Regions from separate parts of the Homo sapiens genome. Here regions 1, 3, 4, 5, 6 and 7 are each linked to region 2. Evidence: promoter capture Hi-C in 16 types of primary human blood cells and fetal thymus (Javierre and others, 2016). All regions are on one chromosome and are shown on one strand. Each heading gives the region's core, a stretch centred on a gene start or on the middle of the fragment in contact. The rest is flanking DNA. Distances are from core to core; before and after follow the strand shown. Region 1 overlaps SPAG9 (sperm associated antigen 9). Region 2 holds the start of LUC7L3 (LUC7 like 3 pre-mRNA splicing factor). Region 3 overlaps SPAG9 (sperm associated antigen 9). Region 4 overlaps ACSF2 (acyl-CoA synthetase family member 2). Region 5 overlaps SPAG9 (sperm associated antigen 9). Region 6 overlaps SPAG9 (sperm associated antigen 9). Region 7 overlaps SPAG9 (sperm associated antigen 9).

Evidence for each region. The method cuts DNA at HindIII sites, captures the fragments that hold promoters and counts their contacts. A CHiCAGO score of 5 or more calls a contact.
Region 1: a fragment that was not itself captured here is called in contact with the fragment with the promoter of LUC7L3 in region 2 in 1 of 17 cell types (M2 macrophages); the score reaches 5.0 in M2 macrophages.
Region 3: a contact is called between a fragment that was not itself captured here and the fragment with the promoter of LUC7L3 in region 2, in 1 of 17 cell types (total CD4 T cells). The highest score is 6.0, in total CD4 T cells.
Region 4: a fragment that was not itself captured here is called in contact with the fragment with the promoter of LUC7L3 in region 2 in 1 of 17 cell types (endothelial precursors); the score reaches 5.6 in endothelial precursors.
Region 5: a fragment that was not itself captured here is called in contact with the fragment with the promoter of LUC7L3 in region 2 in 1 of 17 cell types (monocytes); the score reaches 6.1 in monocytes.
Region 6: a fragment that was not itself captured here is called in contact with the fragment with the promoter of LUC7L3 in region 2 in 1 of 17 cell types (naive CD8 T cells); the score reaches 6.1 in naive CD8 T cells.
Region 7: a contact is called between a fragment that was not itself captured here and the fragment with the promoter of LUC7L3 in region 2, in 3 of 17 cell types (total CD4 T cells, M2 macrophages and M1 macrophages). The highest score is 6.6, in total CD4 T cells.

What each region holds. Positions count from the first base shown.
Region 1 is chr17:51,056,078-51,060,169 of GRCh38, forward strand. It overlaps SPAG9 (sperm associated antigen 9), which reads right to left. Exons shown (of 30, transcript NM_001130528.3): 3 at 335-405. Among named protein-coding and RNA genes, the nearest start is that of SPAG9, 63 kb to the right of the region's middle. The HindIII fragment of the contact is 1,388 bases long and covers 1,942-3,329 here.
Region 2 is chr17:50,718,051-50,722,158 of GRCh38, forward strand. It overlaps LUC7L3 (LUC7 like 3 pre-mRNA splicing factor), which reads left to right and starts at 1,553. Exons shown (of 10, transcript NM_016424.5): 1 at 1,553-1,781. The coding sequence starts at 1,683. RefSeq lists silencers at 1,260-1,489, 1,830-1,889 and an enhancer at 1,520-1,659. The HindIII fragment of the contact is 10,215 bases long and covers 1-4,108 here.
Region 3 is chr17:51,006,209-51,010,526 of GRCh38, forward strand. It overlaps SPAG9 (sperm associated antigen 9), which reads right to left. Exons shown (of 30, transcript NM_001130528.3): 10 at 1,061-1,118; 11 at 1-29. Among named protein-coding and RNA genes, the nearest start is that of SPAG9, 110 kb to the right of the region's middle. The HindIII fragment of the contact is 5,368 bases long and covers 1-4,295 here.
Region 4 is chr17:50,426,948-50,431,019 of GRCh38, forward strand. All of the region lies in intron 1 of ACSF2 (acyl-CoA synthetase family member 2), which reads left to right. Among named protein-coding and RNA genes, the nearest start is that of ACSF2, 2.8 kb to the left of the region's middle. The HindIII fragment of the contact is 1,407 bases long and covers 908-2,314 here.
Region 5 is chr17:51,086,731-51,090,925 of GRCh38, forward strand. All of the region lies in intron 1 of SPAG9 (sperm associated antigen 9), which reads right to left. Among named protein-coding and RNA genes, the nearest start is that of SPAG9, 32 kb to the right of the region's middle. The HindIII fragment of the contact is 6,447 bases long and covers 1-4,195 here.
Region 6 is chr17:51,030,969-51,034,802 of GRCh38, forward strand. It overlaps SPAG9 (sperm associated antigen 9), which reads right to left. Exons shown (of 30, transcript NM_001130528.3): 6 at 713-754. Among named protein-coding and RNA genes, the nearest start is that of SPAG9, 88 kb to the right of the region's middle. The HindIII fragment of the contact is 2,062 bases long and covers 893-2,954 here.
Region 7 is chr17:50,987,462-50,991,260 of GRCh38, forward strand. SPAG9 (sperm associated antigen 9) reads right to left here. Exons shown (of 30, transcript NM_001130528.3): 20 at 2,989-3,207; 21 at 2,216-2,411. Among named protein-coding and RNA genes, the nearest start is that of TOB1-AS1, 120 kb to the left of the region's middle. The HindIII fragment of the contact is 2,993 bases long and covers 871-3,799 here.

The sequences.
Region 1 (4,092 bases), core at 1,386-3,885, 340 kb after region 2:
CAAATCAGTTCTCTCATCTAAGCATCACAGAAACTTCATTATGTGCACATAGGTTTTTGCTTAGCCAGCCAAGGAGAGAAGTACTATAGCTGCCTTAAATAACTAAATTATTCTGTAGCATACTAATTCACCCCATGAAAAGCTAATTCCAAGAAAAGTTGACATTTGGTAACTAGGTAAATGCCACATGAAATTTAATGTTTTCTTGAAAGAATCCCCAAGAATTATTCTTTTTTAAAAAATTCTGATTTTCAAAGAAAAATTAAGACATATTTTCTAAGGTTCATTTCTTTGTCTCAATAATAGCATGGTAATGAAAAACCTAGAAACCCACCTCAGTGTGTCTTTGATGTAATGCATTATATTCCTTCTTCAGTTCTGCTTCTCTTTCTTCAAGTCTGCTAACTGAAATTAAGATACATACACTTGATCAAAACAAAATAAGAAATTTACTTGAAAAAGTACATGTTAGACTCAGAATGGGCTATCCATAATCCTTAGCAACTTTCAGACTCAGTGTTCCATATGCAAGTCTTCACAAAGCAGTGACCTCATTTCATTATCCTTAATAATGAAAACTTTCAGACGAGCGGAATACCTTAGATTGGTTCTCTAATATTCCTATATTTATCAGGTCATCCCCCTAAACAGTTTTTTTTTTAACATGATACAGAATTAACTCTTTCAAAAACACAAATCACCTCATCAAAGTTTTAAACTGGGATTAGGGCCCAAATAATGTATTTCCAACACTACTCAAGCTCTTTAGCACTGGCAGTTTGTGAAAGTTGATTGTTTATAAGTACTTTTTCTGCTTCAGGTCTCCTCAATTTCAGGGACTCATCTTCTTTTATTTAGCTCCCTCTGCTGATGGGTTTTGTGAGTGGCACTGACTTGAGGTAGTGCTCACAGAGTACAACTTCAGGATATTTAAAAAAAAAAAGTTTTATTAATAGATCCTGAGATACAGAATGTCAGGACAGGATTCCACAGGAAAGAATAACTGATAGCAAAGAGGAATGATTCAGGGAGGAGGTGGTGTCCACACAGAACCACAAAGGAAGAAATTACAGTACTCAAGACAGATGGTAATGAGAGCATTCCTGACACTGTTACCACAGAGAAGGGAACACAAAACCATGCCTGTGGTGAGGCAGAGGGTGGTGGTGAGGCAGAGGGGAGACTGGCCAGACTGGAGGAGCCCATACTTGGCTAAGGAGCAGTGGGAGACAGTCTGGGGAGAAATAAAGCTGGTGCTAGAGGAGTTTATCAGGGTACTCATTTAGTCTGTTGGAAAGCCTTAGCATAGTTGAAAATGTTCCCTGGGTTTAAGGGTCAGCTGGCCGCAAACAGGCAAGGCTGTGTGTAATCTACAACTGGTGACTGTGGAGGACAGCTGTAGAAGGAACTAGTATGAACTAATATTCTGACAGCAGATAAATGAATGTTTTATATGCCTCCTAGTATTAACACACCAGACACCAAACAAAACATACCTTGTGCTGCCCAGAAAATTCATTTTGGGTTTGTGTACCTTTACTTGCCATAATTTGTTTAAATATCTTGAAAATATGTGATTAGGAAAACTGTAGCTGTCTTTGTTTTGATTTGTTTCTAATTCAAGCTTATGTGTCGCTGGCTCATTACATTTGCACCAGAGAGCAAACACACACTACAGTACCCACGGAGCACATTTTATCATGCCACACAAGTGTTGAATACATCTGCTGCTCATCTTATCCTGTGGCTGAAAGCGATAATAAGCAAATTTATTATGCAGATGTGTTGTGATAAAATAATAGATGCTAAAACCACAAATTAATTTTTAATAAAATTTAATTCTATGATTTTTATTTAAAAACAGGAAATCCAAGCAAATTATGGATATTTAATAATTTCAAAATAAACATTTTCTACTACTTGTCATTTAAACTGATTAAAAGCTTAAAGGAATTCTGAGACTACTGGACAAACCATATCTATTTTCAATTGTTCATCTTTTTGAATCATTATTTTCTTGATAATGTGCAACAAAAACAAAAATTGGATGCTGAGGCTGAAATAAAATCCAACTATCATTCATAATCCTCAATTTCAAATTTGTGCTCAATAGTAGAGCCTTATTATTCTTGTCAGCTGATATAAATTCATAAATAAATTTGTATCACCAACACCACCACTACTAATAGCAGCCAACAACATCAAGTGCTTACTATGTACCATACAGTCCTAAGAACTGCATATAAACTAACTTATTTGAGCCTAACATTAACCTTACGATGAAAGTATTATTATTACATCCATGGTAGAGATGAGGAAACTGAAGCAAATAGGAGCTAAGTAACTTGCCCAAAGTCACACAGATAGAAAATGGCAAAGCAAGGATTCCTATCAGAATCTGGCTCCAGAATCTGTGTTCTTAATTACCATGCTATACTGCTTCTCAGCAAATACTCATTTTAATCTGTTTTGTATATTGGAGTTTACTTTAAGATATCACTTTGGGCAGAGGGGAGTATGCTTCAAACAAAAAACTCCTCTGTTCTTACAGAAACAACCCATTCACAGATACTTTGATACAAAGGGCATCAAACTGCCAAGCAAAATGTGTACCCAAGTCAGGGAGATGCACATTAAAACCAAAATGCAACACCACCATGCTTCTGAATGGCTACAGTGAAAAACACAACACACCAAGTGCCAGTATGGATGTGGAACTACTGGAACTTTCATAAACTGTGGTGTATGGTTTCATACACCGTAACTTGGTATGCCCAATTTAAGAACTGTTTGGCAAGATTTAGTTAAGTTTCGAATGTTTGCCAACCCTATCACAAAACAATGTCATTGCTAGAAAGCCTATATATATGTCCACCCAAAGGTATTTAAAACAATGTTCAAAGAAGCACAATCTGAAAACAATCCAACTGTCCATCAAGAGTAGAATGGATAAATATTCATGTACTGGAATACTGTACAACGTGAATAAACAAATTATTGCCACACACAACATCATGGACCAATAGCACAAATATGATATTGAAGGAAAGAAGCAGAAACAAAAGAATACAAAATTCAAAGACATAACACAAAACTAATCTGAAATGTTACAAGTCAGGATAGTAGTTACCTCTGGGGAGGAGTCAGTGATCTGATGTATTTATGCCTGTATAGCCCCAGCCCACCTCAGTTCAAACACGATGTGCATCCATTCACACAGGCACTTTCCTCTGCTTGAATACTCATTCTTCCTTATGTTATCCTACAATGGCTATGAGTTCAACATGTAGAATGGGATTTAAACAAACTATTCAGAACCATAACAAACAAGCTTTATTGCTCTGACTGTAGCATTCTCAGGGAGAGAACAAAAATGTTACCGAATAGACTGGATAAAGAAAATTTGGTGGGTCACGCCTGTAATCCCAGCACTTTGAGAGCCGAGGTGGGCGGATCACAAGGTCAGAAGTTCGAGAACAGCCTGGCCAACATGGTGAAACCCCATCTCTACTAAAAATACAAAAACTAGCTGGGCGTGGTGGTGCATGCCTATAATTCCAGCTACTTGGGAGGCTGAGGCAGGAGAATCGCTTGAACCCAGGAGGCAGAGGTTGCAGTGAGGCAGAGGTTGCAGTGAGACAAGATTGCGCCACTGCAACTCCAGCCTGGCGACAGAGTGTGACTCCATCTCAAAAAACAAACAAACAAACAAACAAACAAACCAAAAACCAGAATCTCACCACTTTTACCACCTTCATCACTCTCACTTTGACCCAAGACATCATCTCTTGCTTAGGTTATTACAATAATAATCCTAGTCTCCTGACTAGTTTCTCTACTTAGTCTTTGTTCCCTACATTCTCAAAATAGAGATGGAATCAAACAGTGACTAACCGCTCAAAACTTCAAAGCTTCCGATCTCATTTTTAAAAGGAAAAAAAAATTCTTACAATGGTCTGTAAGACTTTTCTGGATCTGATTGTCAAGTCACAACACTCTTTGCTTCCCATCCCCACAGAGAACTCTTATCTCCTGACCTATTATGGACTGAATTGTGCTCCCTCACCCCCCAAATTCATAGGTTGAAGCTCT
Region 2 (4,108 bases), core at 303-2,802:
ATCCCAACACTTTGGGAGGCTGAGGTGGGTGGATTATTTGAGCTCAGGAGTTCAAGACCAGCCTGGGCAACTTGGCGAAACCCCGTCTCTACCAAAAATACAAAAACTTAGCCGGGCGTGGTGGCATGCGCCTGTAGTCCCAGCTACTGGGGAGGTTGAGGCGAGGGGGTCGCCTGAGCCCGGGAGGTTGAAGCTGCAGTGAGCTGAGATCGTGCCATTGCACTCCAGCCTGGGTGACAGGGCCAGACCCAGTCCCCCCAAAAATAAAAGTGTTGGGCTTGTTATCAATGTGTAGTGCCTTACATTGTATAAACTCATTTAATCTTCACAATAGCATCGTGGCTGGGGGCCGGGGGAGGACTATTGTAAACCCCATTTTACAGAAAAGGAAACAAAGGCACAGAGCGGCAGAGCTGGGATTACGAACCCAGGCAATCTGGCTTTAGAGACCATACCCTTAACTGTGCTAAAGCATTATCCCAACATACGTTGATATATTTGTGACTTTATTTCTTCAGCGATTATCTCCCCTCGCCAATGCACAGGTCTGCGGGAGCATGGACTGTCTGAAAGGTTCTGAGTTTAGCTTTAAGCACAGTGCCTGGCACATACCATTTGTTGAATAAATGGATCTACCTATCTATATATATGTGTGTGTGTGTGTGTGTATGTGTGTGTGTGTGTGTGTGTGTATATATATATATATATATATATATATTTTTTTTTTTTTTTTTTTTTTTTTTGAGATGGAGTTTTGCTCTTGTTGTCCAGACTGGAGTGCAATGGCGCGATCTCGGCTCACCGCGACCTCCGCCTCCCGGGTTCAAGCGATTCTCCAGCCTCAGCCCCCTGAGTAGTTGGGATTACAGGCATGCGCCACCACGCCAACCTAATTTTGTATTTTTAGTGGAGACGGGGTTTCTCCATGTTGGTCAGGCTGATCTCGAACTCCCGACCTCAGGTGATCCGCCCGCTTCGGCCTCCCAAAGTGCTGTGATTACAGGCGTGAGCCACCTCACCTGGCCTACTGGATCAATATCTTTTTAAAAAATTCCACACTGGGAGACATTTGGTGTAGGACTGAATCCCCGTATTTTAGAAGCCGCCTTGTCTCTTCTTGCCTCGATTTCCCATCCTGTTAATCAGGAGACTCAGGGCGGGAGGACAAAGCCAGGTGCAAGAGGCGTGAGCACAGCGACTAGGAAAATGGAGTCGGAAGCCGTAATCTTCAGTTTCCTCCGCTGCATGAGGCACCATGTGCACCACGTGGACTAAAGGAGACACTTTCTCCATTTTGAAGCGGTGTCCAGGCTTCAAGACCTAGGCTCCAATTTCTCACCGTGAAGAAGCTCGGGAAAACCGGGCGCTTGGGGAGGCGCGCGGGCAGAGGCTACCCGTCCCCGCGGCCTCTAGACAGGGGCGGAGTCCCTACCCGGCCTCCGCGGGCCCCGCCCCCGGACGGCGGAAGCCGAGCTCGCCCTCTCCGCCCGGGCCTGGGCGTGTCCCACGGGCGCACGGCATGCTGGGAAGGCGTCCGCGCGGCGGCCATTTTGTCTTGTCGGCTCCTGTGTGTAGGAGGGATTTCGGCCTGAGAGCGGGCCGAGGAGATTGGCGACGGTGTCGCCCGTGTTTTCGTTGGCGGGTGCCTGGGCTGGTGGGAACAGCCGCCCGAAGGAAGCACCATGATTTCGGCCGCGCAGTTGTTGGATGAGTTAATGGGCCGGGACCGAAACCTAGCCCCGGACGAGAAGCGCAGCAACGTGCGGTGGGACCACGAGAGCGTAAGTCCCGCGGGCCTTGGCCTGAGCCCGGGCTCCGTGGGGGAGGGGAGCGGGCGCGGGCTGTGGCCCTCCTGGCCGCGGCGCGATGTGGCCAGGGCCGCACCCGGGGTCGAGCGTCTGACCCGGTGCCCATGGAGCCAGGAGGGAGGATGCTGTCCGGACCCGGGGATGGGGGTGATTTGGTTTTGTTGTTCTAGTATCAAGGGGGTCCGGGAGAGCCCTTGGCATAATTGAAAAGCACCTTGATGAGGCGGGGAAACGCGGGAAAGAAGGATAGCAGCGTCTTATTAAATCTAGCGGCTCCGAGGTTTCACCTCATTATGAAATAGGGAGAAGGGCACATTTTTCTATAGTTTGGGTTGAACGTCGTATTTAGACTAAAATTTCTGACCAGGATTCATGGTAAAAATCGTGGCGGTATTTTATTTAAGTAATTACAGCATGACGCTTATACGGGGAAATAGAAATGTAAAAGAAGTCGTTTACTTGTTAGGGTTTACCGTGATGATTTACAAGTATTGTTCGTTAACAGTATTCTAAGAAGTCCCTTATAGAGGCAGCTGTCAAGGTTTTTTCTTCCACATAAAACTCATTTGATGCTCTTAGCCCGGGGAGTAAAGGTAAATATTATAACCCCAGTTTCACTGGTGAGACTTAAAAAGGCTCACCCAAAGTCTTGGCAACTGAGGAAACTAATCTTTGTAGTTCTGTTAGCTTTCCACAATCCTATGAAACTGGTTCTCTGCACCTACTGTAGCATTTCAAGTGTTTTGATCTAGTTTTGAACATGCAGTGTAATGTTTACTTTAGGTCTTATCTGGAGAATAGATACAGAATTTAATTTTACTTTGAGGTTATAATCTAACATGCTAATTTTAAAACAATTGCTAATCAAAATAGGAAGGAATAGTTCAGGTAATGCATGCTTCTTTAGAAAACTGTTTTCTTACTCTTTTTAAACGTAGGCTTTGGTTAAGGTAAAATTTCTTTTTTGCAGTGTAGGAAAGCAAGTTGGTGCTAGATGACTCCTTTTAGGACTTTAAGAAAGAGTAAGTTTGGCTCAAGTTGTGTTGGGGTGCTAACTGATTCCAAAGTAGTATGAAACATTCTTAGAGTAGAATTTATTGTTTTTAAGAGGTGGGTTTTTTGTTTTTAACATTTAGGCTCCCCATCCCCCCGACCATTTGTCACAATAGGAGACTAAGGAACTGCTTACCTTGACCATCTTTCTTTTGTAGGCATCTTTGTTATAGCGAAGTAACTTTTTTTTTTTTTAACTACCTGACTCTGTAACCTTTCAGTCTAAACTTTGCAAATGTGTTAGGAATAACGCTCAAAATCCTAAGTAAGGTAAAAAACCAAAACATTATGGCGATTTGGCTTATGTTCAATAGGTTATTTGTATATTTTGAATTCAAGAGAAAAATGCTTTCCATTGCACTCCTTATCAGTTGGAACAGCCTTGTATCTCTGCACCCTTGACTTTGAACACGTTTTAGAGAAACTGTTTTCTTTCCCGGGGTAATTTGTTGCCACATTGCATTGTATGTGATGGGTTTATGACTCTTCAATGATGAGGCCCTCAGAATAGCAATTTAGGTTTTATGTCATCTCAGCCGTAATCTGCTTTGCTTTCAGTTTTAGTACTTTTCACTAATTTTAACTTTCAGTGTTTATTACTAAAGTATTTAATGCCTTAATGACAGATTGCACTTCACTCTAGATTGAAGGATTTCAAGTCAGTTACTGGCATTTCAGATTGATATCTGCAGGGAAAATGTTGGTAGTGTTGAGCAAAAACAAAGCACATGGTCTCATCTAAATAGGTGGAATTATTGTATAATGAAGCTGGGGAAGCTGTTGATATCGTTTCCGGGTCATCTGCATATTCTTGTACTGTTGGCTGTTAGTGCTAAACCTGCAGGGATGGGCAAACCCATTATATGCTGAAAAGGAGTCACCTTTTCTATAGCCTAATATTTTAACATATTTTTGCATTCCTGTTCTATCTGGAAATTTTTCTTGGCCATACTTGCATTAAATGGAAGAAGCCATTTCAGCTGGATGGGGCCCTTGTTTTTTTTTTTGGAATAGAGATAAATACCAAAATAAGGAAAGGAAGCAACCATTAATTAAAAGACAGTTGCCGTGGCATCTGTAAGTATTTAACAGTCAAAATGCTAACTTTACCTAGTATTAAAGGTAGTCCCTAGATAGCTGTATTTGACCTGTGGAATTTGTTTTAAATGCATATTTCTGTACTTCAACCCCTTCAACTCCCCTTCCCAGAGAGTCAGATTCTGTCTGTCTTGGGGAAGGGTCCCAGT
Region 3 (4,318 bases), core at 362-2,861, 290 kb after region 2:
AATCATTCTTCACTATGTTCAAAGCATTTCTAAGAAACACATATTTCAAGTGCATCATTACAAATAAATATTCTTTCCATCTTTCAGCTATTCCTTTGTAGACTAAACTGTACAACCATAGACAATAATAATTTAATACTTCAAGACATTCTACCCAATGTTGTTTGTAGATAAATGCAAAAAGAACACAAAGCAACAGTCTAAGATTTTACTCATTTATCAAATGAATAAAACAAGACAGATCATCAATTACTAAAAAGTGAGAAGATTAAATTTTAAAAATAGCATTCAAAAGGTTACTATTGTTAATAATTCCTCAGAATATATTACCCAATCAATAAAGTAAAATTATTTCTTGATGTTACCTTTAATAAATAATGAGAAAACAGTTTAAACTGGAAAGTTAAGACAGTCTACGCTGAAGAAAAAACCCTGATATCCAGTTCCTTTGGGTATAGTGGGCATAGGACCTTATTATAACTGCATTCTGTCTTGGATATACACAGATGTTCCAAAGTTGCTCTGACACAGCAAACTGACAAAGGAACCCAGTCAGCTTTTCCACATGACTGGGGATCTGTCCCATTAAATGTGTCTGAGGGCTTAAGACTCCACAAATTGCACCCAAGAATGCACAGCTATGGAAGACAGCTCTGAAGAGGAAGGCTGAGTATACATGAAAATATTTGTGTGGAAATAAAAGAAACCCCAGGAGAAGAGATAAGAAAACAGACAAATGTTAAGGGAGGGAGCAAAAAAAGTGTAAAACCAGGACAAATTTAGAAGATTAAGAAAAAGGCATGGATACTTATAGAGTGAAAAGGAGATGACAATCTGTGTTTCTACAAAAAAACAGGGCAAGGGAACATATCTAACAGGGCAGTGTAGGTCCCAACATTAGGGTGTGTGTGTGTGTGTGTGTGTGTGTGTGCACACTCAGAGTTGGGGAACGAGATGGGACAGGGAGATTCCATTAGTATTATGTTAAAACGATGAAGTGTCATTGACTTGGACAAGAAGAAAATTCTTTATCTTCTGTTAAAATTTCACATATACTTACTTGGTTTCCAACAGTTGTGTATTTTCTAATATAAGATTCTCAACTTCCCGACCCATTCCTATCAAACGAAAAAAGATAAAGACTTTGAAAATAAATGCATCAATAATTATATACATTTAAAATATAAGCTATAGTCACAAGTTTTATTTTAGAAATTTTATCTGTCCTTTATTAATTTTATTTTGTCTATAATTTCATTTGATGGACCTACTTTAATAGATTATAAAATTATAAATAATTATTCATTACGAACAAGGCTAAAGATTTTGTTGGCCTATTTCTTTTTTAAATCTGAATCGGCTTGCTAGGGAATGAGGCCAATTTTTAATATCTGTTAGTCTATATTTCTCATAGATAATATTTCAAAAGGATCAAGACTTTTCTGCCAAATATTCTAATATTCCAACACTACATAGGGTAAAAAAGAACAGCTTTAATATGGATCGAAATTGTTTCTAAATCACATCTGACCTCGTAGGCTTTTGCCTAAAAATTAGACCTTATTAATAGAGAACAGGCAAAAACAAGGCTAAAGAAAGATAGAACCCCAAGGCAGATGAAACCTTACCAAAGAAATTATGGTCTTAAAGCCCATGCATTCCATGTAAAGCAAAAACAAAGAACAAGAAATGTTTTACGTAAGAAACAGCATGAAAACAGATTATTAATCTATAAAGTTTTATACATGATATGAAAAACATCTGGAATCACAATGTTATGATTTAATGCATAATGATGTGCAAAAGACAGAAATAAAGATGATTTCCTTCATTCATAAGGATGCTGATATACCTAAAAAATGCTTTACCAATTCTTTCTCACAATAAGATTAACTATAATTAGATTGAAAATCTTCAATTAACAATACAAACTTTCCTTCAAAGTGCCACCTATAAAATAATAATGTTCAGTTATCACTTGAGTGAATGTCTTTGATCGTGTTTGGCATTTTAATGACTACTGTGAGATAAGCACGTAGAGCATCCAATGCAAGATCCAATGGAGTGGTCTTTAGGGAGAAGAAAGCTATTAATTTGCTTTTCCTAAGAAACTGAAGAAATGAAATAACACACTAGGGAATATCACTCAAAAAACAAAAAATCAAAGCAAAACAAAACAAAACAAAAAAAACCCACCAGTCACTCATCTTCAAGGAATTGTGAGCTAATAATGTTGGAAAATCACATACAATGGAAGAAGTAATAATCATAACCCAAGTAAACAGGAAAGAAATCTTTCTAAAGAAAACTACATACGACAAAGGAGTTAACATGTCCCTTTATTTTAAAAAAGGTAATTTTCCAAATGATTTAAAAATTACTTAAAACAAAAACAGCCAACCTAGGAATGCTACATATTCTGTGTACCTGGACTCATATTTTGTCTATATTCTAATTTTCTCAAAGATCAGGGTACTTACACCAGAAAGAATTAAATATCAGAAATAGATTAATCATCTACCTATGTATTATCTACAAACTGAAACCAAACAAAACAAAATAAAAGTCCCAAAAAAGTTTCCAAATTCTAACTCCAAAATGATCTTCGGCAAGATATTTGCTTTAAACACTAATGCTAAATTTTTATTCCTTTGTAGATACAATGGCTGGGAATGTTAACTTTTTAACAAAGTTATAGAGACAGAAGAAATAAGAATGTAGACTGGTTGAAAACAGTTTATATAGTAACTATGTTTGCTATAAACTCTCAAGCAGTTAGATAAGCGTGGAAGCTGAAAATATATGAAAGGCAAAAAAATAGTTGAGCAGAAAAAAATGATGAGAAAGCATTAGATGAGAACAGCAGCCAAGAACACCTAGCTTAAAAAGCAGTAATATTAAAATATTCAAAATCATACACACCAGAATATTCCCCTACGTAAGCAGCCCAAGAGAAAAATGAATGAGAATCTCAATTAGATTGTTTTCAGAAAGCAAGAACTAAACTCATTTACTTTAAAATGAGAGAGAGGAAACAAAGAAATTGACAAGATGTAGAGAAACCATTAACTAAACACAATGAAGTGTAAATATTTATAAAAAGGAAAAAAATTGAAATGTGTGCTACAGGAAAAACAAATCCTATAATATAGTTTCTAAAGTTTACATTAGCCATGAAGCCAGTAGACAAGACAGATAATTCTGTAAACTGGAGGGTATACAGGACATTTTTGAAAAGGTACAAAGTCCTCAGTGGGCTTAGAAAATTCACCGTATGATCCATATATTATCCTACTTGGCTTGCACGTCTTTGGGTGCATGAATATACTGCTACTGCGTCCTCACCATCACCTAAATGTGACTCAGTCTGTCCCACTATAATATGTTGTGAATTTCCTTGTATTGTACTTCTATTGTTGGTCTTTTTGCATCAATGATACAACAGCAACAACATTTTAAAATTATCATTAAAAGATTAACTGGCAATGTACAGAGCTTACTCTTAAGGGAAAACACTACAAAAAGTCATGAGGATACCAAATGGAAACACATGATGGTGCCTTTGAGTCTGCATGAGACCCGGATGAAGTAGAAATAAAGCCTTTCCGAGATGGCAAAAATAAATAAATAAAGTTTACATTAAATGTACACATTCCCAATGAAGAGTTATCTTAATATATGGTGTATAAATTGAATATATAACCAATAGGATTATCTAAAATTTCATTTTGAAATGATCAATAACTCTTTATAAGAAAAACATAAAGTGGCCTCATTTCTATTCAAGACTTAAATGAAGCACAAACTTAGGTCTAATACATTTGAAAACTTTACTTATTAAAAACAAGCAAAATAAAAAAAAAACTGCCTGGCAGTTTTTAAAATCACAGAAGTTTCATTTGGATTTTAACACTGATTCTCAAGCTAGGTCCATAGATGAGCTTCAGAGTTATATGGTAATCCCTTGAGAAGATGCACAATTTTATCTAGTTCTACATGTGTGTTTTTCCAAAGGTACATTGCTCTCTTACAAATTCACCTGTGAAGAATTTTTAATCCCAAAAGGAGAAGAATCACCGATTTTGAGGTGAAACAAAACTGTCAGAACTATTTAGCAATCCCATTCACTCAGTTGCTATGTGCTAAATATGCAACAGTGAACAAAGACACAGTTGTCTCAGCCACATTGAGCTTATAGTCTGTCCAGGGAGACAGATAACTAAAAAATAACAGTAAAGTATGAAGAGTGGTATAATAAAATGCAGTGCCATGGGAATACATTTCAGGGAAAACTAAGCTTTAATTAGGGGATCAAGGC
Region 4 (4,072 bases), core at 361-2,860, 290 kb before region 2:
CCCAGTAGCTTCACTGCCTCTGCAGCAGCACAGTAAGTAAAGCTGCCTTCCCGGTGTGACCAGTCCTTGGGAGGACCCCGTGAGATGGCAAATGTGAAAGTGCTTGAGACACAGAGAGCAGGCTGCCACTCATGTTATCAGGGCTGTTAGCTTCAGCAGCACCACTGGGGAGCCCTGTGCACTACTGAGCCTGTCCTACCACTCAACTCGGCCAGATACTAAGTCTATGGTCAGGACAGCACTTTCAGCAACATCAGATGGGGTGTGGGCCTGGACATGGAAAAGGGAGAAGTCAGAACAAAGCTGTGTCTCAGAGAACTAGATTTGTTTTTGTTTTTAAAAAGGCTAAGTAGGAAGAGTTGGAGGGACATGCAGACTCCTTTTTGGCTAGAACTCCAAGATCACACTTTCTGAACTTGCTGATTTCTGAATGCTAGAAAGCATGCAATGCCTTAACATCACTCTGCCTAATTTGCTGAGAAAACTAAGTGGATCAAGGCTGGTCAGTAGATGGGATTGAGATGAGGACAGTGGGGTCCTCTTCCCAGTGACCCTGGGAAGTCACTCACTACTTCCCAGGGTCTCCCTAGACAAGTTCGGCCCTCCCCTGACCCCCTAGTCTCTTAAGCCTCTCCTCTGGACTCATGGCTGCCCCCTCAGGCTGGGAGGACTCTGAGGAAAGTTACTTCCCAAAGTGTACATATTTTATCACACTAAATCAGGCCACAGGGGAAGTCTCTCAGCCTACTCTGGCTCAGGAGGCTGCCCAATAGAAAACAAACAAACAAACCAATAAATAAGTAATAAATCAGGCCACATGGCAACATTTCTGACCTTTGACTTTTTTTTATCTATAAACAAAACAGGTCACTTACCTGCTACAGCCCTGGGACCTCTGAGAGCACCAAGCTTCAGAGAAATTCTTATTGCTGTGTCAGGAGGAGACTCATTTATCCAGACAGATGATTTTCTGAGTGTTTGGCCTACTTTCTTTCTGCCCCTTCCACTCCCTTGTGCCTGCACCCTTATTGTCTGACTGTGATGGTTTTACCTGATTTCTCTCCTACTTTCCCCTTCAGAAGCCTCAGGGCTCAGGCCAGGCAAGGTGGTTTATGCCTGTAATCTCAGCACTTTGGAAAGCAGAGGTGGTAGGATCACTTGAGCCCAGGAGTTCAAGGCTGCATTGAGCCGTCATCATGCCACTGCACTCTAGCCTGAGCAGCAGAGCAAAACCTAGACTCAAAAAATAAAAATAAAGGCTGGGTGGGTGGCTCATGCCTGTAATCCCAGCACTTTGGGAAGCCCAGGCAGGCAGATCACTTGAAGTCAGGAGACCGGTTTGGCCAACATGGTGAAACCCCGTTTCTACTAAAAATACAAAAATCAGCCGGGCGTGGTGGCATGTGCCTGTAATACCAGCTACTAGGGTGTCTGAGGCAGGAGAATTGCTCCAACCTGGGAGGCGGTGGTTGTAGTGAGCCAAGACTGCACCTCTGCACTCCAGCCTGGGTGACAGAGGGAGACTCCATGTCAAAAATAAATAAATAAAAATAAAGGCCAAGCATGGTGGCTTATGCCTGTAATCCCAGCACTTTGGGAGGCTGAGGTGGGCGGATCACTTGAGGTCAGGAGTTAGATCAGACTGGCCAACATGGAGAAACCCCATCTCTACTAAAAATATAAAATTAGCCTGGCGTGGTGGCACATGCCTGTAATCCCAGCTACTTGGGAGGCTGAGGCAGGAGAATTACTTGAACCTGGGAAGCGGAGGTTGCACTGAGCTGAGATTGCACCACTGCACTCCAGTCTGGGTGACAGAGAAAGACTTCATCTCAAAAAAATAAAAATAAAAATGAAAAAAGAAGCCTCAGGGCTGAAACCATCAGCAAACATTCCTGAGAACAGATTCTGCGTCATGCTAGCACATGCTGTGCATATAGAGGCCACAGAACTCAGTCCTCACCCTGCCAGGAACTTGCAGCCTCGTAGGAGGAGAAATAAATCAAGGTGAGCACTATTCGGTGTTGCAAGTGCCATGGTGAGGAATGCGCTTGGACTTTCGTCCTCTGTTTTCTCCGATCTGCTCACACACAGCCTGCTTTCCTGTTGCCCAACACCCAGGCCTATTACTTACCAGACCCTGGTTTTGCCTGAGAGAAAAGAGCAAGGGCTTTGAAGTTAGACTATCCTGGATGACAGCCCTGGGTCCTCTCCCTGTTGGTTGTATGACCTCGGGCATGTTATCTAACCTCTGAGCTAGTTAGTTCATTACTTACTACCTTCTTGCTGTGTTGTTGGGCTGATGAATAAAACAAGCTTGCTCTTGTTCTCAGCCTTTCCTTTGAGGCAGGGCTGATCCCTGGAAACCCTTGACTGGTGTCTGGGTGGGAATTCTGACTGATTTGAAAGTAGGAGAGGATCCCCTGATTGGTGGCCTCTTTCTGGAACCCAATTATTTCTCCTAGCTGATTGCCAAGATGGTGACTTCCACCCAGCTACATGTCCAGTCCTTGGGTCTGCTGGACGTCCTCCTCTCCGTTTGACGCAGGGCTGTTCAGAGTCTTTCTCTTTTTCTTTTTTTTTTATTTGAGGTGGAATTTCGCTCTTGTTGCCCCAGGCTGGAGTGCAATGGCATGATCTCAGGTCACTGTAACCTCCGCCTCCTGGGTTCAAGCAGTTCTCCTGCCTCAGCCTCCCAAGTAGCTGGGATTACCGGTGTGCGCCACCCGCCCAGCTAATTTTGTATTTTTAGTGGAGATGGGGTTTCACCATGTTGGTCAGACTAGTCTCAAACTCCTGAACTCAAGTAATCCACCTGCCTCAGCCTCCTAAAGTGCTGGGATTACAGGCGTGAGCCACCACGCCCGGCCCAGAGTCTTTCTCCCCAGAAGGAAAGAAAAAGCTGTCCTTTGCTCTCCAGAACTCCTCACGACCAACTCCTTCCCCCTATCTATGTGCCTCCTTCCCCAAAGAAGGTGGATGGCTTAGTCTGGGGCTTCAGTGAACCTCCAAGGAAGGAATTCAAGGAGAAACCTGGGCTGAGCAGGCTTCCCCCAGACCTGCCCTAAAGCTGGCCTGGGGCTGCCTATGAGGCAGCTGCATCCAGGGTGTTGAGAACACTCAGAGCTGGGAAGGCAGAGAGATCAGTGGCTAAAGCCTCTCAGAATTAGGTGTGGTGCTCAGAGCTGGGGATCCAGTGACTTGGTGCTGATGGTGGGGACAGAGGGGTAAGGGGGCTTTGTGGACCACCCTCCATGGGGATGGCTATGATCATATAAGACTGTGGACCTAAGGGAAAAATCTGAGGCCAAAGTAATATAAGTAGAGAGATTTATTTGGGCCATGTTTGCAGACTGCAACCGGGAGCATAGACTCAAGTTGCCCTGATTATATGATCTGATGAGCAGCAGTTACAAGTGGGTTTTTAAAAGAAAAGAAGGCTGGGTGCAGTGGCTCACACCTGTAATCCCGGCACTTTGGGAGGCCGAGGCAGGCAGATCACAAGGTCAGGAGTTCGAGACCAGCCTGGCCAATATGGTGAAACCCTGTCTCTACTAAAAATACAAAATTAGCTGGGCATGGTGGCGGGCGCCTGTAGTTTCAGCTACTTGGGAGGCTGAGGCAGGAGAATCGCTTAAACCCGGGAGGAGAAGGTTGCAGTGAGCCGAGATTGTGCCACTGCACTCCAACCTGGGCGACAGAGCGAGACTCTGTCTCTAAATAAATAAATAAATGAAAAGAAGAGACAGTTCCTAAGTGATTTACCAAGAATGTACATTAAAATGATATAAGCTATTGATTCATTATACTTTGTTCTTTGTATCACAAATTTTGTTAACATGAAAGTAATGGGTAAAGCAGCTAGTTAGGAGCAAAATGCCTTTAAACAATTGTCCCTGGGAAGGAAGGAGCATGACTGAAGTCTCATGTCTCTCTGGGCTTGACACATTTTGCATACATCACATAGCTCAGACAGCTGCTGAGCTATTTTTCTGTTCTTGTGACCAACAGTTTACACACACATGGAAAACTACAAAATGCTGTTTCTATACAAGCGCCTTGTATTAAGCCT
Region 5 (4,195 bases), core at 667-3,166, 370 kb after region 2:
AGCCAAGATGGTGAAACTCAGTCTCTACTAAAAACACAAAAGTTAGCTGGGCGTGGTGGCAGGTGTGTGTAATCCCAGCTACTTGGGAGGCTGAGGTAGGAAAATTGCTTGAACCCAGGCGGCAGAAGTTGTAGTGAGCTGAGATGGTGCCACTGCACTCCAGCCTGGGTGACAGAGTGAGACTCCGTCTCAAAAAATAAATAAAATAATAAAATAAAAAATAAAATGCTAATCACTAATATGCAACAAAAATAAAAGTTCCTCAGTTCTGATAAGACATCCCTAATAGCTTACACAGGGCACTGAAAGCTGAGTAGGATAAATGTAATACTAACTTTCAAAGAATAATCAAGAATCAAGAAAAAGTAACAAGTGACTGGAAGTTTCTAAATTGCTATCCAAGAAAAATATCCATCAAATAGTCTAGTTTTGGGCCACTGTTTTGAGAAATATCCCTGACAATATAGGTAACCTCATAAACAGAAGTTGCTGTAGGGTAGAATAGCTCAGAAAGCAGAACACTCATAATTACAAAAATACTTCAGAAATGGCATAGCTCTATATAGCAATTAGCAATCATGTGAAAGTGGGAAACATTGATATAAGAATTTATGAATGAGAAAACAGGAATAGAAACAGAGACGGTGTCATGAAATTCAAACAGATGCCAAAATACAGCTCTTGGCAGAAAAAGGTTTGGATTCGTGGTCCTAGTAAGAGTCCTCTTTTTTCCTGGATGAAGGCTGGAGGTATAGCATAAGGGAAGTAATGAGAATAGTTTCTTTGTCTCTATACCTAACCTTTTCATACTATCAACAAAATACTTGGGCAATGAGTGGCATGGGTTACACTAAAAAGAAAGTTCTCAGGGCTTTCTGCTTCCCTTCTACATTCAGAGATCTTAGTTGGGCTGGTAGCACATGAGTTCTGCTGAACCTCATTACTAGGTTTGTATAGTACAAGCATGGCTGACCTTCTTTATTGTTTAATTTAATTTTTAATTTTCATTTACTTATTTTTTAGAGATGAGGTGTTGTTCTGTCATCCAGGCTGGAAGTGAAGTGGTACAATCATGGCTCACTGCAGCCTCGACTTCCTGGGCTCAAGCGATCCTCCCACCTCAGCCTTCTGAGTAGCTGGGACTACAGGCATGTGCCACTATACCCAGCTAAATTTTTTTTATTTCTTATTTTTAGTAGAGACAAGGTCTCACCATGTTGCCCAGCCTGGTCTCGAATTCCTGAGCTCAAGCGATCCTCCTGCCTCAGCCTCCCAAAGTGCTGGGATTATAGGCATGAGCGACCATGCCTGGCCCTGACCCTCTTTTTAAAGTCTTCTTGATTTACTTCAAAGAAACATGTCTGCCTTCTACTTCTATAATTTCCACTTAACACACTAACTGAGATAACAAAAATAGGAAACATCCCAGTCCGTCACTCTGTAGTCAAAGAAAAACTTGTCATAGTTAAGAGACTAGGAAAAAGCTGTTGTAATAGTTAAGCCACACACCTATTCACAATGCCTATTCTCCAAATGCTAGGCAGTTAGGCAGCATGATGATATTTACTACAAACTAGGTAATGTCATTCATAGGACTTATTCTTAGATAAAATAACATGTTAAATATAAAACTAAAACTCTTTGCCCACCCATCCAATAGGAGTACTCACTGTATGAGAGCCATCAAAGACGTATCATAAACATTTACAGTGTAACACGCTAAGTGCTATAATGAAAGCAGAGAGGAAGAAGTGACTAAATCTGCTTTAAAAAAGGGAAGTCAAGGCTGGACACAGTGGCTCACACCTGTAATCTCAGTACTTTGGGAGGCCAAGGTGGGCAGATCACGAGATCAGGAGATCGAGACCAACCTGGCTAACACGGTGAAACCTCGTCTCTACTAAAAATACAAAAAAAATTAGGCGGACTTGGTGGCGGGCGCCTGTAGTCCCAGCTACTCAGGAGGCTGAGGTAGGAGAATGGCATGAACTTGGTCGGCAGAGCTTGCAGTGAGCCGAGATCGTGCCACTGCACTCCAGCCTGGGCAACACAGTGAGACTCCGTCTCAAAAAAAAAAATGGGAGGTGGGCACAGTTGCTCACGCCTGTAATCCCAGCACTTTGGGAGGCCGAGGCAGGTGGGTCATGTGGTCAAGAGATGGAGACCACTCTGGCCAACATGGTGCAACCCCGCATCTACTAAAAATACTAAAATTAGCCAGGCGAGGTGGCACCCGCCTGTAGTCCCAGCTACTCGGAAGGCTGAGGCAGGAGAATCACTTGAACCTGGTAGGCAGGGGTTGCGGTGAGCGAGATTGCGCCACTGCACTCCAGCTTGAGCAACAGAGGGAGATTCTGTCTCAAAAACAAAACAAAACAAAACACACACACACAAAAAAAAAACAGAAGTTGGGCCAGGCACGGTGGCTCATGCCTGTAATCCTAGCACTTTGGGAGGCCGAGGCAGGTGGACCACCTGAGGTCAGGAGTTCGAGACCAGCCTAGCCAACATGGTAAAGCCCTGTCTCTACTAAAAATACAAAAATTAGCTGAGCCTGGTGGTGGGCACCTGTAATCCCAGCTACTTGGAAGGCTGAGGCAGGAGAATCACTTGAACCCAAGAGGTAGAGGTTGCACTGAGGTGAGACTGTGCCATTGCACTCCAGCCTGGGCAACAAGAGTGAAACTCTGTCTCAAAAAAACAAAAAAACAAACAAACAAAAAAGAAGTCGACAGGTGCACCGAAATCTCGGAAATCACCACTAAAGAACTTATCCATGTAACCAAAAACTACCTGTTCCCCAAAAAATATTGAAATAAAATTATATATATATAATTATAATATATATGTGTATATCTACTTATTATATGTATATATATACACTTTATTTTATATATATATATATATATATATATATATATATATATATATATACACATACACACACACACTTTCTTTTTTTTGATATGGAGTCTCGCTCTGTGACCCAGGCTGGAGTGCAGTGGCATGATCTTGGCTCCCTGCAACCTCTGCCTACCAGATTCAAGCAATTCTCCCTGCCTCAGCCTCACGAGTGGCTGGGATTACAGGCACCCACCACCATGCCCAGCTAATTTTTTGTATTTTTAGTAGAGACAAGGTTTCACCATGTTGGCCAGGCTGGTCTCGAACTCCTGACCTCAGGTGATCCACCTGCCTTAGCCTCCCAAAGTGCTGGATTACAGGCGTGAGCCACCGTGCCCGGCCATATATACTATTTTTTTAAAAAAGAGAGAAGTCATTTTAGCTTACTCTAAAAGGAATGGTTTGCCTAAAACCTTTACTGAGATAAAGACATTCCAGGCAGAGGTCACAGCACATGCAAACGTCTAAAGATCATGGCATGCCCAGGTAACTACAATTCACCATTAAATTTTGAGTCGATGTAAAGGTAAACTATAAACTAAAGAATAAGTTGAGAATCTCTCTGATTCACAAAGCGAGTAAAAAAGACAAGTAAGATTCCACTTGGCCAGGTGCGGTGGCTCAAGCCTGTAATCCCAGCATTTTTGGGAGGCCGAGGCAAGCAGATCATGAGGTCAGGAATTCAAGACCAGCCTGGCCAACATGGCAAAACCCCATCTCTACTAAAAATACAAAAATTAGCCAGGTGTGGTGGCAGATGCCTGTAATCCCAGGTACTGGGGAGGCTGAGACAGGAGAATTGCTTGAACCTGGGAGGCAGAGGTTGCAGTGAGCCGAGTCCAGCCTGGGCAACAGAGCAAGACTCCATCTCAAAAAAAAAGATTACATTCATCCATCTTTTCAAAACACAACTTGAGCCCCTATTGTTTTAAATATTCCAAGGTACTGGGAAATGTAGTAAGTTACAAGAGAGCCCTATGTTCTATTGATTGAAATTTAACAGAAGATGAAAGGTCTTAATCATGGGTAATTACATTTTATAAAAAAGATCGATTTACAAAAGATCTTGCATAATTCAACAGTCACCTAATTGAGGTTAAGGCTGATAAGAGATGGCTGATATTTCTGTTACTGCCTAGGTAATACCAACATAGGATAACAGCACAACATTGGTTTACAGCTCAGTCAGGCTTTCATATAACATGATTTCTGAAGACTTTCTGAAATGAGAAGGTAACATTTCAAACTCTGAATATGAAATGAAACTTTTAAAAATCACATAGTTCAAGTC
Region 6 (3,834 bases), core at 674-3,173, 310 kb after region 2:
CAGTGGCACCATCTTAGCTCACTGCAACCTCCACCTCCCGGGTTCAAGCAATTCTCCTGCCTCAGACTCCTAAGTACCTGGGATTACAGGTGTCTGCCACCATGCCTGGCTGATTTTTGTATTTTTAGTAGAGACAAGATTTCACCATACTGGCCATGCTGGTCTTGAACTCCTACTCCTGACCAAGTGATCCGCCTGCCTGGGCAGAGTGCTGGGATTTCAGGCATGAGCCACCACACCTGGCCTGTAGTAGGCTCTTAACAGATGTTTGATGAATAAAGCTGGATGGTGCCCTGACTGGAGATGAAGAACTCTATTAAACTAAGGAAGCAGTCCACTGTAAGATGACACACTAGGCCACATTCAGGACAAATACAAGTTACATACATTATGCCCTGAAGAAGGTATTTCTGGAAAGTATACCATTACATAGAGCTGGATAAATGCAAACAGGCTGAATTTCACAGAATTTACTTATATTTTCTTTCCTTTATTTAAAAATGCTTACTTTGGGGAAGGAATAAATTACAGATTGCAGTAAAGCCCTGACAACCACTACAGTGGAAATAATTTTCTTTTATATTTCAGTGAATTACAACAATAGTCTTCCAAGCTGAGCATCTGATGTCTTGAGAATAGCAGTTGAGGAAGTAATCAATAGTTAATCACTTTAGTATACTTTTTGCAAAATGTTAAGAAGCACCATTCTCACCTCCTGTTCTACAGCCTTCTGAGGTTCAGGACTATTGCTGACCTAGGAAGAGGGAAGATTATAAAAGAGAAAAAAATTATGTGTTTACTAGGTTTTAACACAGCTGTAACTTTGGCTTGTACTATCTCCCAAGATACAAGATTCATCTATTATCTACTGTGTTTAAAATGAGGGTTTGGAAGCTTTGTTTTATTTTGACTTAAGCTGACCTTAACACTCTAGTTTAAGTAATATCATGGTTCAGAAGCCACCACTTGGATCAGTGTCTTATACTTATCAACATGCAGCTCATTGTTTAACCTTTTTTTTCTACTTACACCACTTTATGAAATCTTCCTGATGTTTATTCCAGTCCCTTTGACTATTTAACATGCTAATAATCCAGTGCAGCATACTCAGAAATGTTTATCACACCTCCTTCTATCATTTCTGAATTAGTTAGATAACACTAATGATCAAAGGATCACCAAAATCCAAATCCTTTTTCTTATTTTTTTTGAGACACGGTCTCACTCCTGTCGTCCAGGCTGGAGTGCAGTGACACGATCACGGCTTGCTGCAGCCTCAACTTCGCAGGATTCAGGTGATTCTCCCACCTCAGCCTCCCAAGTAGCTGGGACTACAAGTGTACCCCACCATGCCTGGATAAATTTTTGTATTTTTAGTAGAGATTTGGTATCGCCTTGTTGCCCAGGCTGGTCTTGAACTCCTGGGCTCAAGTGATCCATCTTCCTTGGCCTCCCAAAGTGCTGGGATTACAGGCATGAGCCATGTGCCCAGTCCCAAATCCTTTTTCATAAAAATCTATTTATTCATATTCTTTATTTCTATCTATACATTTTCCCTCTATGAGACGGATGTGTTTCTCTTAAATACAAAGCAACAGTTTCAAATACTCTTGGTCTGGAAATTCATCAAAGTCTTTTTGAAAGGCTGCTAGCTCTCAGTTATGCCCTTAAAAATACACAGATTAGGCCGGCCGCAGTGGCACACACCTGTAATCCCAGCACTTTGGGAGGCTAAGGCAGGTGGATCACCTGAGGTCGGGAGTCCAAGGCCAGCCTGACCAACATGGAGAAACTTGTCTCTACTAAAAATACAAAACTAGCTGGGCGTTGTGGCGGGCTCCTGTAATCCCAGCTGCTCTGGAGGCTGAGGCAGGAGAATCGCTTGAACCCAGGAGGAGGAGGTTGCAGTGAGCCGAGATCACGCCATTGCACTACATCCTGGGCAACAAGAGCGAAACTCCATCTCAAAAAAAAATAAAAAATACAAAATACACAGATTAACAAGGCATGATTCACTTTGTAGGAATCAGACTGCCTCTTCTTTAACAGATGTGGTTTTTTTTTTTCCCCTAGCTTTATTGAGATATAACTGACAAATACAGCATATAGTTAAGGTGATTTTTTTAATACACATTGTGAAACAATCACCACAGTCAAGCCAATAAACATATCTAGCACGTCATACTTTTTTTGGTGGTAAGAGCACTTAATGTTTATTTATAAGATCTTTGATTCTAGATTCTCATCATCTTTAATCATTCTCTTCATCAAAAACTAGGTAAAAACTTGGGTAGCTCTCTCTATATAAAAGTAGAAAGATTGTCAAGCTATGTCATTAAATGAAAAAAAAAAAAAAAAGCAAGCAGCAGGAAAACACTTATAAACCCACTTATCTTAAAAAGATATTATATCTATGTGCACCTGTAAAGAAAAAGGCCAAGGATACATCAACTATTTACAATGACTGGGGGAAAAAATGAAATTTAGGGTTGAAGAAACTTCCCATTCCTACTCCACATTCTTCAGTATTACTAAAAATTGTGAAACTGAATTAATATAATTTTTTAGACACAGGATCTTGCGATATTGCCCAGGCTGAAGTGCCGTGGCTATTCACAGGTACCATTACAGTGAACTGCAACCTGGAATTCGTGGCTTCAAGCAGTCTTCTCACCTCAGCCTCCTGAGTAGTAAAATAACTTTTTAAAAGAAATTATAAAGGCCTCTTTTAGAAAATATTTGGACCTCTGAGCACCTTAACAACATTTCTAGTACATGGCATTGTGCCTAACACAGTGAGCATCAATAAATTTTTTTGAGTGAAAAAGGTAATTTTTTCAGTAGAAAATGTTAAACAACTTCTCCTATTCTAAAAGTCTGTTTAAACAGTAAATGTAAGTATTAATAAATACCTATGTGCCAATTACCTCAGATGAAGTCACATTTAAAATACAAGCTTTAAACACCGCCATTTTGAAAGTGCTGCTTATTTACATCTTTATCAGTTTCTATTCTCAACATACATAATAGGCATCTTGGTCAACATACAACACAATAGAATCTTTACCCTTTTTTTCCTTCCAAACCCTAACAGTCACCTATAGGTGGTTCCTAAAGTTATCACATGAAGATATATGTGAGGAAAAAAGCTTATAAGCAAAAATTGAGTTTATAGAACAAATTCCTTATCCACTGTCATAAACAAAACAATATGAAATATTACAACACATAATCCATTTTTTTCTTAAAACTCTACTTTTATTTTACCCTAGTAGGCACACTAATACAAAATTCTATAAAGGAGGTATAAACTAATGGAAAAACCCAAACCAGAAGTAAATGAATGAATAATGCCTAGATCTTGGTTCCTAAATACACTTCTCCCAAAAAATGTGCCAGAGCTCCTTTGAGAAGTAGTCCAATTTTTAAGAGTGGGGCAGGGAAAATACAACAGCTTAGAGCATCTTATGGTGCCAATAAGGAAGAAAGCATTCAAAAAAGGATGGGGTATGTCAAAAGAGCACAGGAGCCAACCTGAAAGAGCTCTCAATGTCCAAAGCTAGAAAAATTTGAGAAACCAAAGAAATGATAGGTTCGCATAGCCCACAGAATAATATATGTATATATCCCTTGAATTCAAACTGGACTGGAGGGAAGGAGGGAAGAAGACAACTCTCCCTGATAGAAGAATTCCAATTAATAAATGTAGAATGAAGAAAATAGAAAATAACTATTAGCAATATTTTACTAATAATTGTTGTAGGCAAAATCCACTGTGGATGCTAAAATCAGTGAATGAAAGTTTGAGCAGAAACAGGGTATCTGCACAGTCTC
Region 7 (3,799 bases), core at 1,117-3,616, 270 kb after region 2:
CCTGAATAACAGGGACTAGAGGCACACACACTATCACACCTGGCTTCAACTTTTAGTCAAAAAAAAAAAAAGAAACCACCAAAATTCCAGAAAAGCCAAAGTCAAAAGCTTACATCACATATTTCAACAATTGTACCAGAAATAACATTAACAAACTAGGAAGCCCAAGGAGCAGAAAAGATAATAAGACATGGTAATGAAATACAGCAGTTAATATTCAGACAATTACTATGGCTGTCTCTTATTTTGGGTTTTGTCATAGTTTCTTCTCAAGTGAGAGAGAAGGGAGGGATACACACATACAAATAGTAGGGAGAAATATAAAGAATGACCTAAAATAAATTAATAAACTGAAATATGTTTAATATTCTATCACAAAACCTTTCCTTTGAATTGTCAGGGCATATTTAGTAAAAGATATATAACCAGGCTATCAAATTCAAACATGACTTATTCTTAAATTAATAATTCAGGCCAGGTGCGGTGGCTCACGCCTATAATCCCAGCACTTTGGGAGGGTGAGGTGGGTGGATTTCTTGAGGCCAGGAGTTCAAGACCAGCCTAGCCAACATGATAAAACCCCATCTCTACTAAAAATACAAAAATTAGCTGGGTGTGGCAGCACATGCCTTCAATCCCAGCTACCTGGGAGGCTGAGGCAGGAGAATCGCTTGAACCTGGAAGGCGGAGGTTGCAGTGAGCTGAGATTGCACTGCTGCACTCCAGCCTGGGTGACAGGGTGAGATTCCATCTCCAAAAAAAAAAAAGAATTAAATATTAACCCATTTATGCCGGAGGTTGCAAATTTTTTTTGTAAAAAATCAGACCTTAGCGATGACCTTGAGCAGTAGGATATGAATAACTCCCACAAGCTTAGCATTCCAATAATGGACCACTAGGCATAAATGGGTTATTAATTAATCTTTCTTACTTTATACACTAAGAATATTAAACTTTAAAAAGGATCTAGTTTAAAGAGACTCTCATCTAGAGGGGATCTAGAAAAGGCAGGAAAGAAAATAAAATAATTCACTAAATGGGCCTAGATTAACCAACCCTTTAACGGAGGAGCCTAAAACAAACAGTTTTCTTTGGTTTGTTTGTTTTCTGAGACAGAGTCTTGTTCTGTTTCCCAGGCGGCAGTGCAGTGGTGATATCATGGCCCACTGTAGCCTCCAGCTCCCAGGGCTCAAGCAATCCTCCCACCTCAGCCTCCTGAGTAGCTGGGACCATAGGTGCACGCTACCACGCCCAGCGAATCATTAAGTTTTTTGTAGAGATGAGGGTCTCACTATGTTGCTCAGGTTGGTCTTGAACTCCTGGACTCAAGCAATCCTCCTGCTCAGACTCCCAAAGTGCTGGGATTATAGGCATGAGCCACTGGAACTATCTGAGTTGTTTTTTAATAAAATATTTGCATGAAAACTAAATTCAAAAAGGTCATCCACACCCATGTGGGAAACTTGTACAATGGCAGATTTAAACAATGGCCAATTTTGCTGATAACTGGAGTGAAAATTAGAGTAGGGGTGGGATTAAAATGACAAAGAATTACTTATAGAATGGAAGACAGTAAGTACAAAAAAAAAGAAAAAAAAACAGATCAGAGGAGAAAATGAACAGAAAGATTTTGACTAATATATAGTCACACACCTGGTAAAACCATTTTGGAAAATGATGGACAGAATATATGGTGGTGGTTCCACAAGATTATACTACTATATTTCTACAGTACCTTGTGCATGTTTACATACACAAATACTTACCGTTATGTTCCAATTATCTACAGTATTCAGTACAGTAACATGCTGTACAGGTTTCTAGCCTAGGAGCAATGGGCTATACCATATGGCCTAGGTGTGTGATAAGCCATACCATCTAGATTTGTGTAAATGCACTCTATGATGTTCACACAATGATGAAATCACCTAATGACACATTTCTCAGAACATATCCCCATTGTTGACTGATGCATGATTATACTTTTATAGATAAGATTTTTTTTTTAAATTGGAAGGTGTACAGAAGAAATGGGGGGGAATATCCAGCGAGAATGATGGAGCGGGAATACATGAAATTATCACAAGAATAGGTATCTTTTAATCCACCACAGTGACACTAATTAGTGGAAATCTTTTGACTGTTTGAGATTATTTTGGTTCCTTTTATTTGTGCACTTCACCCAGTTGCCTAAGTTGATGACCCATTATTATACCTCGACTGATACACTGGGGAGAGGTCTTCTGGGATCTGAACTCCCAAAGGATCTGTAAAGACATGCTCTGTGTAGACGCCAGTTTGGGAGATGTCCACTGTGTCTTCAGCTGACCCCGCATTCCCTTCTGTAGCTTCAGTTGCTTCTTCTGCTGTTGGAACATTTTCATCAACCTCACTATTTTCTGCTTCCATTTCTACAAAGTAAATAAAACACTATTCCAAGTCTGGGCTTTTCTCCTCCAATTATTTCCCCACACAAACCCCTGTTATAGAATTCCATTCCATCTACCCACTCCTTCACACTGTACCATGAAATTAAGAATTCTTCATTCCATTTAACAGTCATTACAGCATTTTTTTTTTTTTTGAGACAGAGTCTTGCTCTGTTGCCCAGGCTGGAGTGCGGCGGCGTGATCTTGGCTCACTGCAAGCTCCACCTCCCAGGTTCACGCCATTCTCCTGCCTCAGCCTCCCGAGTAGCTGGGACTACAGGCACCCGCCACCACGCCCGGTTAATTTTTTGTACTTTTTAGTACAGACAGGGTTTCACTGTGTTAGCCAGGATGGTCTTGATCTCCTGACCTCGTGATCCACCCGCCTTGGCCTCCCAGAGTGCTGGGATTACAGGCGTGAGCCACCACGCCCGGCCTACAGTATCTTCTTTCAAGTTCTTTCAACCTTGTTACTTAAGATCTAAATTAAGTCCATAATGAGGCATCTGAGTGTAGCCTTAGACTCTATACAGATGGCAGGTAAAGAGAATGGATATACCTGGTGGTTTATCCATCACTGGAGAAGCACCATTTGTACTAGGGGAAGTGGCAGCTCCCGTCACACCTTCTGCAGAACAACCAACCACTGTGATGCCTCCTAACAGGCTGTCTGTCTCTGCTGAGCTGTTGCTTGTCATACTTCCACATAAAGATGCTTTGTCTACCTGACCAGATTCTGAAAGATCTTCTCCTGCAGGGTAGTCTGTTTCTCGTGCACCTGAAAAATAAATCTTCTTGTAACAGCAAAGTAAACTTCTATAAATAACATTTTTTTTACTAAAACAATTACAGGTTTGAAATGAGAGTTATGCAGGTGAGATGTACAGGTAGTTGAATACAGGTAGCATTAAATTTACATAAACAAATCTTCACAATATGGGAAGGTAACTTAAAAAATTAAGAAAATACTTCTATTAACACAAGTGCAAATAAACATAAAAATGTCAGAAAATAAACTTTTTTTTTTTTTTTTTTGAGACAGAGTCTTACTCTGTCGCCCAGGCTGGAGTACAGTGGCATGATTCAGCTCACTGCAACCTCCGCCTCCTTGGCTTAAGTGATTCTCCTGCCTCAGCCTCCTGAGTAGCTGGGACTACCGGTGTGAGCCACCACGCCTGGCTAATTTTTGTATTTTTGGTAGAGACAGGGTTTCGGTATGTTGGTCAGGCTGGTCTTGAACTCCTGGCCTCAAGGGATCCACCAACCTCAGACAAGTCCTAGGATTACAGGTGCGAGCCACCACGCCTAGCCAGCTTCTGTTCTTAGTGAGCTCCTCAGCAGCCACAGGTTAAAAACAATCTATTATATCT